Linked DNA regions of Homo sapiens: all the other regions are linked to region 1. Evidence: promoter capture Hi-C in 16 types of primary human blood cells and fetal thymus (Javierre and others, 2016). All regions are on one chromosome and are shown on one strand. The core of a region is centred on a gene start or on the middle of the fragment in contact, and the rest is flanking DNA. Distances in the headings are between cores, read along the strand shown.

Region 1 (2,700 bases), core at 60-2,559:
TAAAGGAAAGAATTAAAAACTATGCCTTACCAAAAAGAGACAGAAAAGTATGTGTGCATACATATATATATGTGTGTGTGTATATATATATATACACACACACACACTTTGTATACATATACTTTTATATAGATATATAGAAAAAATATATATATAGAAGTGTGTGTGTGTGTGTGTGTGTATATATATGTATATAGAAAAGCACATATATCCTTTTCTATATATAACCAAACAAATTCTGGAGACACAGTGAAAATTTCTGGAGAAATTCTGGATGGACTAGGGGTCCACTGACAGATGAATGGATAAAGAAATTGCAGCATGTATATAAAGTGGAATATTATTCAGTCATAAACAGAGAATCCTGCCGTTTGTCACAAGATAGATGAAACTGGAGAATATTATGCTAAGTGAAATAAGCCAGACACAGAAAGAAAAATGCTGCACAACTTCACTTATATGTAGAATATTAAAAAAATTAAAAAGAAGAAGTAAGAAAAAAGTCAAATACACAGACAAAGAATAAAATGGCAGCTGCTACGTGTGGGGAGTGGACGGGAAGAGGGAAATCAAAGGGTACAAAGTTGCAGATATATAGGATAAATAATTTAGAGATCTAAGGTACAACATGAGGACTGTAGTTAATAACACTGTATTAAAGATTTTTGCTAAGAGAGTAGATTGTGGGTGCTCTTGCTACAGTGCACAAAAAAGGGTAACTATATGAGATGATGGATATGTTAATTTACTTGACTATTTAAAAATTTTACTACATGACAAAAATTCTGGAGTTGAAAATGAAAAATTAAAGAGGGATTCAACAGCATATTTGAACTGACAGAAGAAAAAAATCCATGAACTTGTAAACAGGTTAATTGAGATTATCTAATCTAAGCAACAGAAAGAAAAAAGAATGAAGAAAAATGAACGTAACTTTAGAGACCTGGGGGACACACTCACGCTACTAGTATTCACATAATATGAGCCCTAGAAGGAGAGGAGACAGAGAAAATGGATGAAAGAATATTTGAAGAAATAATGGCCAAAAACTTCTGAAATTTGATGAAAAACGGCATCAAATCTGCATATCCAAGAAGCTCAACAATCTCCAAGTAGAATAAACCTCAAGACCAAGACACATCATAGTCAAACTATCAAAAGCCAAAGACGAAGAATCTGGAAAGCAGCAAGAGAAGTGATTCATCCCACACAAAGCCCCCACCAGAACATGACTTCCTAGAACCATGCTCCCGGAACCAATGCTGACAGAATCTAAGGTAACAATCACTTGTGAGTCATCAACAGCACTGCCCTATCAGTGAAGTCAAAGATTGAAGAGGAACTCTTTCAAACCTTTCAAGTGCCCCCTCCTTTCCTTAAAGTCTTTTATAGGGGTCCCCTTCTTGGCCATCTCCATCCTGTGAGTCAGGACTGAAAGGGCACAGACAGGTCACTGCCAGCATTGTTGGGGCAAGCCTGCAAGCACGCATCACTGGGGATCTGACATGACAATGGCCGCCTGCCCCCTCTGAGGGCTACAGGACTTACCCCAGTGGGAAGCAGCTAAGCAGTAAGTAACTGTTGGCTTTAGACTGTATAGTATTTGTTCTAAGCATAAGGTAATATATAATATTTTCCTTAAAAAGAAGCTCCTAGTCTTACAGTATAACTGAAAACTGGGCATGTATCTTTAGTGCATGTTTTTACAGCTATACAGATACACATCTACAGTTTTATATTGTACTTTATATTTTAATACACATCTACCTATTTGATATGGTTCTTATTTTCTTTCTTTCTTAAAGAAAGTTTAGTGTTCACTTGAGAAAAACTTGGAGGTGAATGTTTTCCAACATCCTAACCCAGTAGACGCCCATTCATCCAGCTACTATTTCCTGAACACCTATCCTGTGGCAGAACATTTCGCTGGATGCCAGACATAGAGATGGAAGATGAGGTGTTTCTAGTGGGACAGGAAGGGCACATGCTCAGTCTGAGCTTAGGAGAGATGGCCTGGAGGAGGTATCTGAGTGCTGAAGGATTCGCTAGGTGAACTGAAGTGAGGTTGGGCAAGGATATCCAGGGAGAGGGGGCCAGCATGACATGGAAGTGAGGGAGGACTTCACATATTGGAGGGATTCTAGGCAAAGAGCCATACAACATAGAAAATCAAATTTCCAAAATGCAGTTCAATTCAGTTCAATTCAACCAACATTTTCACCAATTCCCTCCTATATAGGCGGCGTTATATTATGATAGCTGCTGGGTTACAGAGATGTCAGGAAGACATGTCCACACCTAATTTCAATCAAGTGTGACAAGTAATAGTGGAGTAACAGACAGACAGTATCGCAGAGGTGGCGAGGAACTTTGTCTGGAGGGTCCGAGTAGCTTTCAGAGGGGAAAGGATGTACAGGAATTCAAGCCCACCACAGGAACAAAAGGGGCTCTCAGTAGAGGATGCGACATGTGCTTCACCACACAGGCAGGAAACTGCAGGCAGAGTGCCAAGAGCTGAATAGAGCCCGTTAATACTGGGCCTTAGATTTGGAGTTGGGTGCAGGCTGGGTAGGAAGGAGAGGGAGAAGCAAGCTGGAGTTGGGCTGCACAAGGCCTTCCTAGGGCGTTCAGCTTTGATCTTTGGGCTACAGGGTCTTTGAAGGTGTGTGAACTGATGTGATAGGACGAGAGAGTGTTCTA
Region 2 (2,807 bases), core at 133-2,632, 530 kb before region 1:
TATAAAGTCTACAGTAGTGTACAGTAATGTCTTAGGCCATCACATTCATTCACCACTCACTCACTGACTCACCCAGAGTAACTTCCAGCCCTGCAAGCTCCATGCATGGTAAGTGCCCTATACAGGTGCGCCATTTTAAAGTCTTTTATACTGTATTTTTACTATGCCTTTTCTATGTTTAGATTTGTTGAGGTACACAACTACTTCCCGTTAGGTTACAATTGTGTACAGCATTCGGTATAGTAGCATGCTATTCAGGTTTGTAGCCTAGGAGCAATAGGCTATACCATCTAGCCTGGGTGTAGAGTAGGCTCTAACATCTAGGTTTGTGTAAGTGCACTTTGTGAAGTTTGCACAATGATGAAATTGCCTAACAGTGCATTTCTCAGAACCTATCCTTGTTGTTAAAGTGATGCATGATAGTATATGTTTAAAGAACTTCAGGATTTACAAAGTACTTTCATATTCATTATTTGACTTAAACACAAACTTGAGGCACACTTATTATTTCTGGTTTACAGATTAGGAAACTGAGGCCCAAAGACATTAAAATGACTGGGCCCAGGCAATTCAGCACGGAGCAATGTGGCAGGGTCGGGATTAAGTTGTGGGACATGATGGGGATCCTGCTCACTGACTTGACTTGCGGGGCCCCAGAGCAAACCCCCTGCTCACAGGGCCTTAGGTCCTGCCGCCTTAGTGGCACTGCAGCTCACACCTGCGTCTCTCTGAAAAAGAAGCCCAGCATTCTCTGGCATTTATCCATGACCCTGGGCTCCCAGTTAACTCCTGAGTTTAGAAACCAGGCATTAGTCCTCTAATCCCCACAAGCCCCTCCCATTGTGTGGAATCTGGATAAACCCCAGGCCTGAGAGATGCAGGAGGGAGGCACCTTCCCCAGTGTGATTGGCAGGACGCAGAGCCCCAAGGCTAGCGTGGGACAGGAGGCTGCCTCTGGCAGGCAGGCAGGCAAGCATCTCACAGCTGCCCCACCTGGCTGCTGGGCCAGTCGCCTTGAGCTTGGGATAAGGAACCACGAGTCCCCACTTTACCATGAATCCACCCAGGGCAAAGCTTCCTAAGTCTTTATTTTTTCTTATTTATATAATGGTTCAATATCTGCTGTTTTCTTATCTCATAGGGAAAAAGGTTTTGAGTAAAAACTAAGATCTATGTGATACTGTAAACTCCTTGGCATGGAGAGTGGGATGACAAAGTGTCTGTTAAAAAGGCTACTGTCCCTTTCTTTGATTGATTCATTCATTTGTTCAATAACTATGTATTAACCACCTTCCATATGCCAGACTCTATTCTCAGAATTGGGAACAGAGCTATGAACAAGAAAAATCTCCCCCTATCCTCATGGAGTAGAATGTCCGGAAAATTCAAACCCTAAGCCACCAACAGTCAGTACAGTCAGAGCTCCATTATTATTCTGAGTATTTTCTATAACATTTTTTCAATGGAAAGTTCCCAAATGAAAGCAGCTCTGCCCTGCTTCTAGGATGACAAGCCCAGTGTATCGGAAAATACAAACTAATCTCAATACACATTGAAACAAACAATAGGTACCAAGGGTAATTCACTGTCTAGTCTGTGATATGCAAAGTGAATTTTTGTAAAGGATATCTCATCCTGCATTTTAACAGGCATAAATAAAAACCTGTTTGCTGTGCTTAAAACTGGTAAACAAGCTTTTCCACCAAAAACATTCCTTTGCTTATAAACATGTTTTTCTCAAAAGTAGTTAAAATTATAAACATGTTTACCCCATTCCCAATAAACATAAGGCTACCTCCTTCAAAAGTAATAAACAGCTCTACCCCAAAGTCATAAACATATTTTAGACTGTACAGAAAATTTATGGCATAAATTGGTAAGTTGTGATATAATTTGGAAACCACATATACAGCCAATGATGTAATGGCTTAGATAATTTTGGAGTACAACCAATATGGTAGATCCAACCACAAACCATTAAACTATGAGGCAAGTCCAGAGTTCCCAGGCTCTGCAGTTAACACAGAGACCCGCTGCCAGACTGTGTGAGTGTTGATGACCCCCTACATCTTCCCGGTGTGTCCTGAGCTGGCTGCAGTTCACCACATGCCACCCATAAGGGACTCTGCCCTGGGGAAGATGGAGACCAAGATCTCTGCCAGTGGAGACCACTGGATGCATCAACCGAGAGTGAGTGGCAGCCAAAGCCAAGGGGGAGATGGGCCAGTCCCTGACAGGTGGCACGTGCCTTCCCCACTCGGCCCCCTCTTGCTGGCTCACAGGTGCCCCTTAGCTTGTTGAAGGAAATAAATAACTGAACCCTGTTTAAACTAGGTGGTGTTTTTGTGTCTGATGGTTCCCACTCATTGACATTCTTTTTAAAATCCTTTTTATTTTTTATTTTTAGAGATGGGGTCTTGTTCTGTGGCAGACTGGAGTGCAGTGGCACAATCATAGCCCACTGCAGTAGCGAGCTCCTGGGCTCAGGTGATCCTCCCGCCTAGGCCTCCTGAGTAGTTGTAACTACAGGTGTGCATACCACTCCTTGGCATGCTAAATCCAGGCTCTAGCTTTGACTAAAGGTGTAATTCTTCAGAATAAAAAACCCATTTATACTACTATGTGCATTGCCAATCCCAACAAAGAGGTTCCGGGAAGTCCACTGTTCTTGAAATTTTCCATTTTTTATAAACAATCAGCTTTGGGCTCTGTTGGAGTGCAGCTGCTCCAAGGTGTGATGCAGTGGGCCCTGAAGGTGGGACATTTTGCCCAAGGTAAGAACCCTGGGAGAGCCCCTGACTTGTCCA
Region 3 (2,870 bases), core at 336-2,835, 590 kb before region 1:
CTGGTGTTACCACAGTTTAGGCGTGGATCCTTTTCTGATATGGTCAGCTAGCTCAGCCTTGCAGTAGCACTGCTTTTGAGTTTTCGTAATCCATTTTTATTATGTCAAGTAGTCGGGGCTCACTTTTCTCTGAATTAGTGATTGGAGTCTAGGCCAAAAAGCAAGAATAGTGATAAGTATCTCACACTTAAAGTTCAGAGAAGCTCTAGCTGTGAGACCAGCCACTTCCCTCTTCAAGGCAGGCTGGGTGGCCCAGTTCAGCAAAACCAGAATATCCTTTTCCCCCTATCTTCTTACAAGGAAGTTGGGGGCACAGGAGGTCAGTAGGTTGGCTTTGGGGGCACACCTCCCCTCTGCTCCCTACCAAATCAAGAGTCCCCAAACCACACTCCCCTCCTGCCCGCACTGATTGTCTCTTGTCTTTATCATTCTGAGACACTGAATGGCCAAGACTTGATGCTGCAGGCCTGGGCCCTAAGAAAGGAGCAGGAGGGAGATGGCCGGGCTAAATGGGAAACAGTGTCTATGCCTAGATGAGAGAGTGGAAAAATTGGTTTAGAAGTTTGTACAGAAAGCAATTGACAGGAGTCGACAAATTAAAGACCACAGGCCAAATCTGGCCTGCCACCTATTTTTGTAAATAAAGCCTTATACACACACACACACACACACACACACACCAGTTGAACCACCAGATCAGCTACCTCTTCCCCTTCCCATCAGAAGGCCAAAGCTTACTCTCTGGAAAGATGGACCAGGGACCTAGACCACAGGACACCAAGCACAGTCAAGGTAGGAGTGCTAGACCGCAGGACGCCAAGCACAGTCAAGGTGGGAGTGCCATACTGGGCCCAGGAGGAAGAAGTGCAATCTGTGTTACACTTCTGGGACTGCCAGGTTCCTAACACCTGCCCAGGCAGGAGGCTGAGGGAGTCCCCTCTCGGGAGAACTGGGAGGCTAGTGGCTGCCAAATCAGACAGCACAGATATTGAACATTTACATCATTGCACAGAGTTCTATAGACAGCACTGCTCTAAGAAATGACACTTGGATAAGGGTAAAACCTCTTTTTTTCCCCCATTATAAGCTTTGTAGAACTAATGTGTACTTTGTTTTTAAAACTCTGTTTACATATCAGTTTATAAAAATAAAAATTTAATTCAAAAAATGATAGGGAGGCATTCCCGCAGAACTTAGACCCCCAGGTTTATGCAAGGGCATTATATTTTCATAATACAAAAGTTTAGCAGCAACTCTCACCTGGGGGCACTTGGCATCTCTCCTCCACCAGGGGACATTTGGCAATGTCCTGAGGCATTTTTGGTTGTCACAACGGGGAGGTAGCCAGGGTGCTATTGGTATCTAGTGGATAGAGGTCAGGGATGCGGTTAAACATCCTCACAGGACAGCTCTCCCAACAAGGAGCTATCTAGCCGAAAATGTCAATTGTGCTGAGCTAGAGAAAACTGAGATTAAACTGAATCTCCAAGATTCCAGTCAGGCTCGCAGATAGATATGCATGCATGTACTTTTTCTTTTAATGAGACAGGGGCTTGCTATGTTGCCCAGGCCGGTCTCAAACTCCTGAGCTTAAGCGATCCTTCCACCTCAGCCTCCTGAGTAGCTGGGACTACAGGCGTGTAACATTGCGTTGGCTTAATTTTTTTTTAACTTGAATCCTTCAGGCTAGAATGCAGTAATTAGCTAAAGTTCAGTCCCACAAGCTAGCATTATACCCTCAGTGCAATAGAAAATTACATTGGAGAATTGAAGAAATTATCTGGATAATTCAAAAACAAAATACTCTATCTCTTGTTGTTCAAATAAAGTAAGAATGAGATTTTTAACCTAAGTTATTGTTAATTGTTTCTGTCAGCTCCTCCTGGTCATTGAACTATGTCACGGGATATTTCTCTTTGGAAATTTCTTAAAATCAATGATACTTAATGAAACTCTGATGATCCTTTGTTAATATAAAAATCAGTTCTGTCTACTCCTGTGTTTTACAGCCAATGGGCAGGGTAATTCACAAATTACACCAAAAATAAATATTCGGGGAAAGATGCAGAACTTATACAAAGAGAAAGCTTGCACCTGGGCATGATATTCTTTCAAGTTTTACAGATTCTATCATTAGATTTGTTGGCGCTAGCTCCGGGTCCTCAGCTGTCACTTTGATTTTCTCTGTTGTTCCTCCTTAAGTGAATAGCTTTTTAATATACATCAGATCAATATCCATGTTGTTTCCTAGAACTTCTAGGTGCCCAGCCCTTTTCTGTTTATTAATAGTATCTCCTAGGATCCTTGCCACATTTTCACAAGAGTCACTACTGATACAGGTTGACTATCCCTTCTCTGAAATGCTTGGGATCAGAAGTGATTAAGATTTCAGATTTTTTTGGATTTTGGAATATTTGCATTATACTTATCACTTGAGCATTGGAAATCCACAATCCAAAATGCTTCAGTGAGCATTCCTTTGAGCATCATGTCAGCACTCAAAAGGTTTCAGATTTTGAAGCATTTTGGATTTCAGATTTGGGATTAGGAATACTCAACCTGTATTAAACAAAGCTGGTCCCTGAGGCAACTACTCAGATATTTTTTTATTTGAAAAGTTGCTCTTTATCATTAGATGTTGCTACTGCTTTTCCCAAAAATATCAGAGTCCTCATAACTTTTTTCTGTTAAAATCAAATAATATTTATTGGTATTTATGATTTATGATATATAGGCATATATCATAACTTACACACATATAAGTACCTTAAAATTACCTTAAGTTATTTTAGAAGATATGTATTTGTATCTCACATGTATTTTTGTATTTATTCATTCAGGAATATATTGAGTGCTTGCTATGTACAAAA
Region 4 (2,700 bases), core at 131-2,630, 560 kb before region 1:
ATCCCCAGTTGGGAATGTAAAAGCACCATCTGCATTTCAGTACCTGCTGGGCAGAAGATGTGCATTCCGAGCAGGGAATCCATTTGCTTTTATGAGAGAGGTTTTTTTTTTTCTCCTTCCTGTGAAAGTCCTATTATAAAAACAATTAGTCTCCTTGAAGGATTTTGTTCTGCAAAAGAACTAATTCTCTGCACAGCTGCTCATCCTTAGAAATGGCCTAAGTACCAGAGGGAGGGGGCTCCTGCCACTTCTACAGAATCTGCTTCCAAAGCCAGCACCAGCTCTGCCGAAGCAGAAGCCCTTGGGTCCCCCTACACCTCCAGAGTGTTAAGAGCTGTCAGCCACCATGTGTTAATCTGCCCTCCCTGCCAGGCCATTTGGAGGACCCTCAGGAGCCTGGGGAGGCAGGAGACAGACAAGGCCTTTAACCCATCAGCAGCTGCTCTGTGGTCAAGAGGTCACAGTGGCTCAAATCCAAAGGTGAGAAAGGGCTCAAGGATCATGTTGGGAAACAATTCTTTGGGACCCCCAATACTTCATAGTGTGTTCAGCAGCAGCAGCTCTTGATTAAAAAGGGCCCTTTTCAACCTCTTTAGTTTCATAGAGGTATGCAGTTTGATTGAGGAGGTTTGATTTAGGAAAGATAGACATGAAACAGATTATTTTCCCAGTATACCATTATGCTTTGCCACATTCAACTTTTCTGCTGGGTACCAGGCTTCCTTAAGAACACTTCAGCCCCATTTAATAGCTTTTCAATAATTTTCTGTTATTTAGATAGTAAATAACTGGCTGGGCACAGTGGCTCATTCCTGTAATCTCAACAATTTAGGAGGCCAAGGTGGGAGGACCACTTGAGCCCAAGAATTCACAACCAGCCTGGGCAACATAGCAAGACCCTGTGTCTCTACAAAAAGAATACTAAAAATAAAAAGAATTAATTGGGTGTGGTGGTATGTGCCTGTAGTCCCAGCTACTCAGGAGGCTGAGACAGGAGGATCACTTGAGATCAGGAGGTTGAGGCTGCAGGGAGCTGTGATTGTATAACTGCACTCCAGCCTGGGCAGTGCAGTGAGACCCTATCTCAAAAAAAAAAAAAAAAAAAAGAGAGAGAGAGAGAGAGATTAAGTCTTAGTCTTGTCCATTTTTAAATCTCAATCCTATTTGACTCACATGATTCCCCACCACCCATCTCAACTTAGGGATGGCAAGTGGAAAAAGCACCAATTGGTATATTTTGCTGATTCTTGTGGTTAAATCTTCCCCATATGGTGGGTTTCCAAAGGTGATGTCATTCAACACAGAGTTGGGAAGGACGAGATGGGCACAATGAGCTCCTGCCAGCTAATAACACCAGAAGAGCACTGTGTGGAGGGCATGGAGGGACATGGCCTCCCTTGCCCTTCCCTGGGCCTGCTCTTCTGGTGTTGGGGCAGGGAGTGTCAGAGGCATGTGAGCCAGAGCAACTCCATCTTGAAGAGGAGCTGGGTAAAATGAGGCTGAAACCTACTGGGCTGCATTCCCAGATGGTTAAGGCATTCTAAGTCACAGGATGAGACAGGAGGATGGCACAAAATACAGGTCATAAATACCTTGCTGATAAAACAGGTTGCAGTAAAGAATCCAGCTAAAACCCACCAAGACCAAGATGGGCACAAGAGTGACCTCTGGTCATCCTCACTACTACACCCCCACCAGCACCATGACAGTTTACAAATGCCATGGCAACATCCGGAAGTTACCCTATATGGTCTAAAAAGGGGAGGCATGAATAATCCACCCCTTGTTTAACATATCACCAAGAAATAACCATAAAAATGGCAAATCAGCAGGCCTCAGGTCTGCTCTGCCTATGAAGGAGCCATTCTTTATTCTTTTACTTTCTTAAAAAACTTGCTTTCACTTGACTCTGTGGACCCGCCCTGAATTATTTCTTGCGTGAGATCTAAGAACCCTCTCTTGGGGTCTGGATCAAGACCCCTTTCCTGTAACAGGAGGACAATAAGAAGGCCAAAGACATTTCCAGACTGAGCAATTACATGATAGTGGGACTGCTGATGCCAGCAGTTCCAAGCCACCACCCTTTGATTCAGCCAGTGTCACCTTAGCTCATTAGCGATTGTGCAATTATTTGACCTGTTATTGCATTCTGCCTTTATTTAAAAGAAAAGAAAACTACTGGAAAGTAATAATTAAAAGGTCTTCTATGGAAGATCATTTCCACAGAATGATCTTCCAAATGATCTTCACCAATATTGATGCTGGGGGCTTTTTCTTGGCCATCATTCAGCCATTTTTTTTTCCTCTGCTCCCCTGTGATAACGTCCCTCTCCCTGAGCAATGTGTGTGCTTCTTACCCACTGGGTGGGGAGGCAAGCGACGGGGCAGGGAGTAATGCTTCAAAGACATTCTTATGGATCTGTGGCCATAGGAAGCACAGGCATCGTAAGTTTCATGTGCTTGGAAGATGTGACATGCCAAAACTGGCGAGTGAAGATTCACTTCAAATCAGATGCCTTAAACACTTAATCAGATACACAGCAAGGCTGTGTATTTTGTCAATGTTTATTATTGATATAAACTCTTAAGGGAAGGGATGTATACTTCTTTAAGATAATGTAATGACTCGCTGTCTCTGCTCAGCCCTAGGCCAGCTTAATGAGGAAATACTAGGAACATTCCCATGTGGGTCAGAAACAA

The links. Contacts are between HindIII fragments. The CHiCAGO score rates a contact against its expected background, and 5 or more counts as called.
Region 2: a fragment that was not itself captured here is called in contact with the fragment with the promoter of CCDC70 in region 1 in 2 of 17 cell types (fetal thymus and naive CD8 T cells); the score reaches 6.1 in fetal thymus.
Region 3: a fragment that was not itself captured here is called in contact with the fragment with the promoter of CCDC70 in region 1 in 2 of 17 cell types (erythroblasts and total B cells); the score reaches 6.0 in erythroblasts.
Region 4: a contact is called between a fragment that was not itself captured here and the fragment with the promoter of CCDC70 in region 1, in 1 of 17 cell types (erythroblasts). The highest score is 6.1, in erythroblasts.

Annotation. Positions count from the first base shown.
Region 1 is chr13:51,860,660-51,863,359 of GRCh38, forward strand. CCDC70 (coiled-coil domain containing 70) reads left to right here and starts at 1,310. Exons shown (of 2, transcript NM_031290.4): 1 at 1,310-1,570. It also overlaps a transcript of TMEM272 not described here. RefSeq lists an enhancer at 912-2,111. The HindIII fragment of the contact is 6,103 bases long and covers 1-2,700 here.
Region 2 is chr13:51,327,805-51,330,611 of GRCh38, forward strand. No RefSeq gene overlaps it. Among named protein-coding and RNA genes, the nearest start is that of SERPINE3, 10 kb to the right of the region's middle. RefSeq lists an enhancer at 815-1,314. The HindIII fragment of the contact is 620 bases long and covers 1,073-1,692 here.
Region 3 is chr13:51,271,915-51,274,784 of GRCh38, forward strand. The region is part of intron 3 of FAM124A (family with sequence similarity 124 member A); the gene reads left to right. Among named protein-coding and RNA genes, the nearest start is that of FAM124A, 51 kb to the left of the region's middle. The HindIII fragment of the contact is 1,000 bases long and covers 1,086-2,085 here.
Region 4 is chr13:51,303,099-51,305,798 of GRCh38, forward strand. No RefSeq gene overlaps it. Among named protein-coding and RNA genes, the nearest start is that of SERPINE3, 35 kb to the right of the region's middle. RefSeq lists a silencer at 95-389. The HindIII fragment of the contact is 3,312 bases long and covers 1-2,700 here.